Linked DNA regions of Homo sapiens: region 2 is linked to region 1. Evidence: promoter capture Hi-C in 16 types of primary human blood cells and fetal thymus (Javierre and others, 2016). All regions are on one chromosome and are shown on one strand. Each heading gives the region's core, a stretch centred on a gene start or on the middle of the fragment in contact. The rest is flanking DNA. Distances are from core to core; before and after follow the strand shown.

Region 1 (3,094 bases), core at 322-2,821:
GTTAGGTGTGTCATTTTACCTTATTTAGTCATGTTACGTGGCCTTAGGTAAGCCATATCATTTCAGTTCCTCAGCAGGGGTAGTCAAGCATGCAAACTGAGATCACCGTTTCTGGCCTCAGACCAGTGATTTTGTAACTACTATCTATGTGACCTTACAAAATATATTACTTCAAGTTCATTTCCTCATCTGTAATACCCACTGTACAAGGCTGTAGCAGGAATTAGTAAGATAAAAATATATGAAGGGTTTGACATATAGTAGATGCTTGAAAGTACTTTTCTCCCAATTATTATAATACATAAAATTTAAGTTTTTTTCTCAAAATAGACCTTACCCATCATTAGATTTACAGAAAGACTCAGGTGAAGTAGTTTTCCAGACTTCTCATTTTAACTATTACTAGGGGAGCTCCTATTCACAAAGTATCTTAAGACAATTACATTTAAGATAGGGCAATGAGTGTTGTGCATCTATCTGCATTAAGAACTAGAAAGTGGTAAATAAGTGAGGGACAGCTAAAATATCATGAAAACTCACGGGAGAAAGAAATTGACTTCACCTTTTAGAGTTGAGGCACACAGAGAAAGGACGTAGGAGGTAAACCTAGAATGCTGCTAATGAGTAGTTTTTCTCTGCGTAGCCCATAGATTGAATACTTTCTCTTCTGCTTCACCATTTTGCACCACTTTTATTATTAAATTTATAAATTAGATTGTAATTCCTGTTTCTGGTCTACTAGTTATTATTATCCGCTTTTGCAGGACATGCTCATTTTACCACCACTGAATTCTTCAGCACCTGATTAAAGTAACAGCTGTAATAAGAAATAACAGAAAGGATATTTGGACTTTGAGCTTAGTCCAACATTAATAGCATGGCTCTTGAGTCTGATTGATTTTGTTTAACTTCAGACTGGGCCTCTTACTTAGGTCAGTGATTTTTAGCGTTGCCAGATAAAATACAGGACACCAGTTAAATTTGAATTTCAGATGGACAAATAATTTTCAGTATAAATATATCCCATACAATATTTAGGGGATACTTACAACAAAATATTATTGTTTATCTGAAATTTCACATTTAACTGGACGCTTGGTATTTTCATTTGCTAAATCTGACAACCTTAGTGACTTCTCTAATCATGTTTGCTTTCTGCAAATAGGGCTGAAAATAGTACCTTCTCCCTAGGATGATCTATATACAGAACGTTGCTCATGGCAAAACCTTAATTTACCTTGCAAATCAGGATACTTTAGTAGAGACTTCTGTTAAAACTCTGGGACAATGACCATGCCCAGGCACCCAAAAAGATGGTTACCTTTATTCGACGGTTTTCTAAAGAGCACAGAGAAAGTTCAATAGAACCCTAAACAAAGGTACAAACTGCGTTGAAAGATACGTAAATGTGCCTTTAATAGCACAAGGGTATCTTAGCCACATCACTGCAAACTGCAGTCTCCCTGGTTACGGGGAAAGCGGTAGTTCGGTCTCTGCGCAAGCGCACAGGGACTTCTTGGGTCCACGCCCCTCCCCGCCGGCGAGAGTCACGTGGGCGAGTCGTAGCTTTAGACAAGCGGCCAGCCTTGACACGTGACCCAAGCCCCAGCTTCGCGCAGGGATGGAGCCGGAAGAGGGGACGCCCTTGTGGCGGCTGCAGAAGCTGCCGGCCGAGCTGGGCCCGCAGGTGAGGGCGGGTACCGGGGGAAGCGGCGCGGGGCCTGGGATTCGCGACAGCCCGGCGTGCGGATCAGGCCGGGTGCGACCCGGACGCCTTCGCAAGCTCCCTAGGGAAGGGAGGAGGAAGGGGCGTGATTTCGGGTGGTTGGTCCCCGCCTTCCCTGGGGAGCCTAGGAGGACAGCTTGGGGCGCCACCCCCAGCCTAGAGGTGCAGCTCCAGGGGCTTTGCGCGCAGAAGCGCCCACACCAGACTGGGCTTTGAAAGCTTAAGTCGGTGTTTGCTGCCTCTTAGTATACGTTTTCTTAATTCATTCAACACATAACCTCCCAAAGGCTCCCTACCTACCGGACAGCAGGTACAGAGCTAGGTGCTGGAATACAATGTGACAAAGACCGAAGCGGACCCTGCCTCCCCCCTTGAGGGTGGTTGGTAGGAAGAGAAATAACTGGGCGAGTTACTTTAGTTAGGATCGTCCCAAGAGGTGATGTACCCATTGACTTCCAGTCTGTAAAAGAACCTGGCTTGTAAGAATCTGGAAAAAGCAACCACATTCATTTGTTCAGCCAGTTTTTCATTGAAGTCTACCATAGATTGAGCGCCCCGATGGGATGAGGTAAATGGTGAGTGAGACACAGCCTGTGCCCTGGTGGAGCATCTTTTTTATAAGTCTCAATTTTGGCTTCCTGTTTCCTCTATTCCATTTATACTGGAGAAAGTGTGGAGGAGACAGAAAGGAATGAACTTACCTCCTGCCAGGGTCAAGAAAAAAAAACACCTAATTCTTTTCTTTGTTTTTGCAAGTGAGGAACCTGAAATGTCAGCAGAAATTTTGGCTAACTTGCCCAGGATTGCCCATCCAGTTAGTGGCAGAGCTGGAACTTATGCTCAGATCTGTTGATTCTGAGTGTTTTATTGGCTTTTGGCTCTCCTTGTCTTCACTCTACCCATTTAGATAAGGCCCATAACCTTTATTACCATATATGTCGATGACTTCTAAATCTTTAGGTCCAGCCAAAAATTTCTTCCTCTATGGTTCAAGAATGCCAGGTAAAAAACAAAACAAAACCCCAAAAACCCCAAACCAAAATCTCTTCCCTGAGTGTCAGGCTTCTGCCACAGGTACCTCAAATTCAGTATGCCCTTGCCTCAGCTCTTCTTTCCCCCTGGACCTACTCCTCCCGTAGCCTCATTTTCGGTTTGTGGCACCACCACTTTCACCCAGCCCCTCTCAACCTGACGTTCTAGGTTTCATCCATGGCCCCCCCTTTTCACATCTCTTCTACCTCTTTACTGCCTCCATTTTGAGTGTCCTCAACAATTTAAGCCCCTTAATCTTTAACTCCTTAACTGAAAATTGAGGCATCTGGGCTCACCCTCTCTCTTACATCTTCCAACCTGTTAGCAAATATATGG
Region 2 (3,094 bases), core at 595-3,094, 470 kb before region 1:
TATAAATTGGAGTTCCCACAGCTCCCTTGTGGGTCTAGTAATTTGCTAGCACAACTTACAGACCATAGGAAAACACTTATGTTTACTGCGCTATTATATTAATAAAGGGTATGATAATGAATACAGATGAAGAGCCAGATGAAGAGATACATAGGGCAAAGTCGGGAAGAGTCATGAGAACAGGGGCTTTTGTCCCCATGGAATTGGGGTGTGGCACCCTCCTAGTTCATAGATGTGTTCACTAACCTGATAATGCTCCAAACCCCATAGTTCAGGGATTTTTATAGAGGTTTTATCATGGAGGCATGATGGACTATTAACTCAGTCTCCAGTGCTTCTCCCTTTCCTGGATGAAGGAGGTTGGGGTAAAAGTTCCAAGCTTCTAAACATAACTTAGTCTTTCTGGTGACCAGCCCCATCTTGGACCTCACCAAGGGCTGCTTCATTAGACCAAAAGACACTTTTCTTTTTCTTTCTTTCCTCTTTCTTTCTTTCCTTCTTTCTTTCTTTCTCTTTCTTTCTTTCTTCTTTCTCTTTCTTTCTTTCTTTCTCTTTCTTTCTTTCTTTTCTTTCTTTCTTTCTTTCCCTCCCTCCCTCCATCCCTCTCTCTCTCTCTTTCTTTCTTTCTTTTTTTCTTTCAAATAATATCATAGAGACTTAAGCTGGTCTCAAACTCCTGCACTCAAGGGATCCTCCTGCCTCAGCCTTCCAAAGTGCTGGGATTACAGGTGTGAGCCACTACACCTGGCCAGAACAAAAGACATTTCTATCACCCAGGAAATATCAAGGGATAAAGAGCTCTGTTTCAGGAACTGGGGTCAAGAACCAAATACCACAACAAAAGATGGACTTAGGGCCGCGCTCAGTGGCTCATGCCTGTAATCCCAGCACTTTGGGAGGCCAAGGCAGGTGGATCACGAGGTCAGGAGATCAAGACCAGCCTGGCCAATATGGTGAAACCCTGTCTCTACTAAAAATACAAAAATTAGCTGGGCGTGGTGGCACGTGCCTGTAGTCCTAGCTACTCAGGAGGCTGAGGCAGAAGAATTGCTTGAAGCCAGAGGCGGAGGTTGCAGCAAGACGAGATTGCACCACTGCACTCCAGCCTAGGTGACAGAGCAAGACTCTGACTCAAAAAAAAAAAAAATGCACTTAGTAACCATATTGCTTAGGAAATTACAAGAGTTTTAAGAGTTCTGTGCCAGGGACCAAATATATATATATATATATCTCACAATATCACAAGAATGCTACTCATGAAAGGAATGGCTTTACCTGGATGGTGATGATAGACCTTGAGAGATTTGTACACTCTCACTTTTGCACTTACAAAATTTTTCTTTTTTTCTTTTTTTTTCTTTTTTTTTTTTTGAGACAGGGTCTCGCTGTTGCCCAGGCTGGAATGCAGTAGTGCTATCATGGCTCACTGCAGCCTCAAACTCCCAGGCTCAAGTGATATTGGGTCTCAGCCTCCCAAAGCACTGGGATTACAGATGTGAGCTGTCTGGCCAAAATTTTACCTTTTATTTCTACAGCAGAATATTTTCTACAGCCATAGGTTTATTAGTATTTGTATTTTATTACATTGTTAAAGGCATATTTATTGAAAATGAATTTTTCTGTTGACCTCAACAAAGTTAATTGACAGTTATTCACAAAAATTCACAATGACATAAAAAGGAGAAACACTGAATTGATTTTATTTTCTATTTTAGGTTACCTAGAACAAGGACTGCTGGTAAAGGAAGAACTTAAACTCATAAATAAATATAAATCCAACTTGCAATTTAAACTTGATGTTCTGTCACTGATACCAACTGATTTGCTGTATTTTAAGTTAGGGTGGAACTATCCAGAAATTAGATTAAACAGGTTGTTACGGTTCTCTCGTATGTTTGAGTTCTTCCAGAGAACAGAAACAAGGACAAACTATCCAAACATCTTCAGGATTTCCAACCTTGTTATGTATATCGTCATCATTATCCACTGGAATGCATGTGTGTTCTACTCTATTTCTAAAGCTATTGGATTTGGAAATGATACATGGGTCTACCCTGATATTAATGATCCTGAATTTGGCCGTTTGGCTAGAAAATACGTATACAGCCTTTACTGGTCTACACTGACTTTGACTACCATTGGTGAAACACCCCCTCCCGTGAGGGATTCTGAGTATGTCTTTGTGGTGGTTGATTTCCTAATTGGAGTGTTAATTTTTGCTACCATCGTTGGTAACATAGGTTCTATGATTTCCAACATGAATGCAGCCAGAGCAGAATTTCAAGCAAGAATTGATGCTATCAAGCAATATATGCATTTTCGAAATGTAAGCAAAGATATGGAAAAGAGGGTTATTAAATGGTTTGACTACCTGTGGACCAACAAAAAAACAGTTGATGAGAAAGAAGTCTTAAAGTATCTACCTGATAAACTAAGAGCAGAAATTGCCATCAACGTTCACTTAGACACATTAAAAAAGGTACGCATTTTTGCTGATTGTGAAGCTGGTCTGTTGGTGGAGTTGGTCTTGAAATTGCAACCCCAAGTCTACAGTCCTGGAGATTATATTTGCAAGAAAGGGGATATCGGACGAGAGATGTACATTATCAAGGAAGGCAAACTCGCTGTGGTGGCAGATGATGGAGTCACTCAGTTTGTGGTATTGAGCGATGGCAGCTACTTCGGTGAGATCAGCATTCTTAACATTAAAGGGAGCAAAGCTGGCAATCGAAGAACGGCCAATATTAAAAGTATTGGCTACTCAGACCTGTTCTGTCTCTCAAAAGATGACCTCATGGAAGCTCTAACTGAGTACCCAGATGCCAAAACTATGCTGGAAGAGAAAGGGAAGCAGATTTTAATGAAAGATGGTCTACTGGATCTAAACATTGCAAATGCTGGCAGTGATCCTAAAGATCTTGAAGAGAAGGTTACTCGAATGGAGGGGTCAGTAGACCTCCTGCAAACCAGGTTTGCCCGAATCTTGGCTGAGTATGAGTCCATGCAGCAGAAACTGAAACAAAGATTAACCAAGGTTGAGAAATTTCTGAAACCGCTTATTGACACAGAATTTTCAAGTATTGAGGGACCTGGA

The links. Contacts are between HindIII fragments. The CHiCAGO score rates a contact against its expected background, and 5 or more counts as called.
Region 2: a contact is called between a fragment that was not itself captured here and the fragment with the promoter of COMMD8 in region 1, in 1 of 17 cell types (neutrophils). The highest score is 5.0, in neutrophils.

The regions. Positions count from the first base shown.
Region 1 is chr4:47,462,179-47,465,272 of GRCh38, reverse strand. It overlaps COMMD8 (COMM domain containing 8), which reads left to right and starts at 1,571. Exons shown (of 5, transcript NM_017845.5): 1 at 1,571-1,687. The coding sequence starts at 1,622. LOC107986277 (a long non-coding RNA gene) reads right to left here and starts at 1,390. Exons shown (of 3, transcript XR_001741683.3): 1 at 1,322-1,390. RefSeq lists a silencer at 1,581-1,840. The HindIII fragment of the contact is 2,743 bases long and covers 1-1,947 here.
Region 2 is chr4:47,936,451-47,939,544 of GRCh38, reverse strand. CNGA1 (cyclic nucleotide gated channel subunit alpha 1) reads left to right here. Exons shown (of 11, transcript NM_001379270.1): 11 at 1,716-3,094. The region is part of intron 1 of LOC101927157 (a long non-coding RNA gene); the gene reads right to left. Among named protein-coding and RNA genes, the nearest start is that of NFXL1, 23 kb to the right of the region's middle. The HindIII fragment of the contact is 2,926 bases long and covers 382-3,094 here.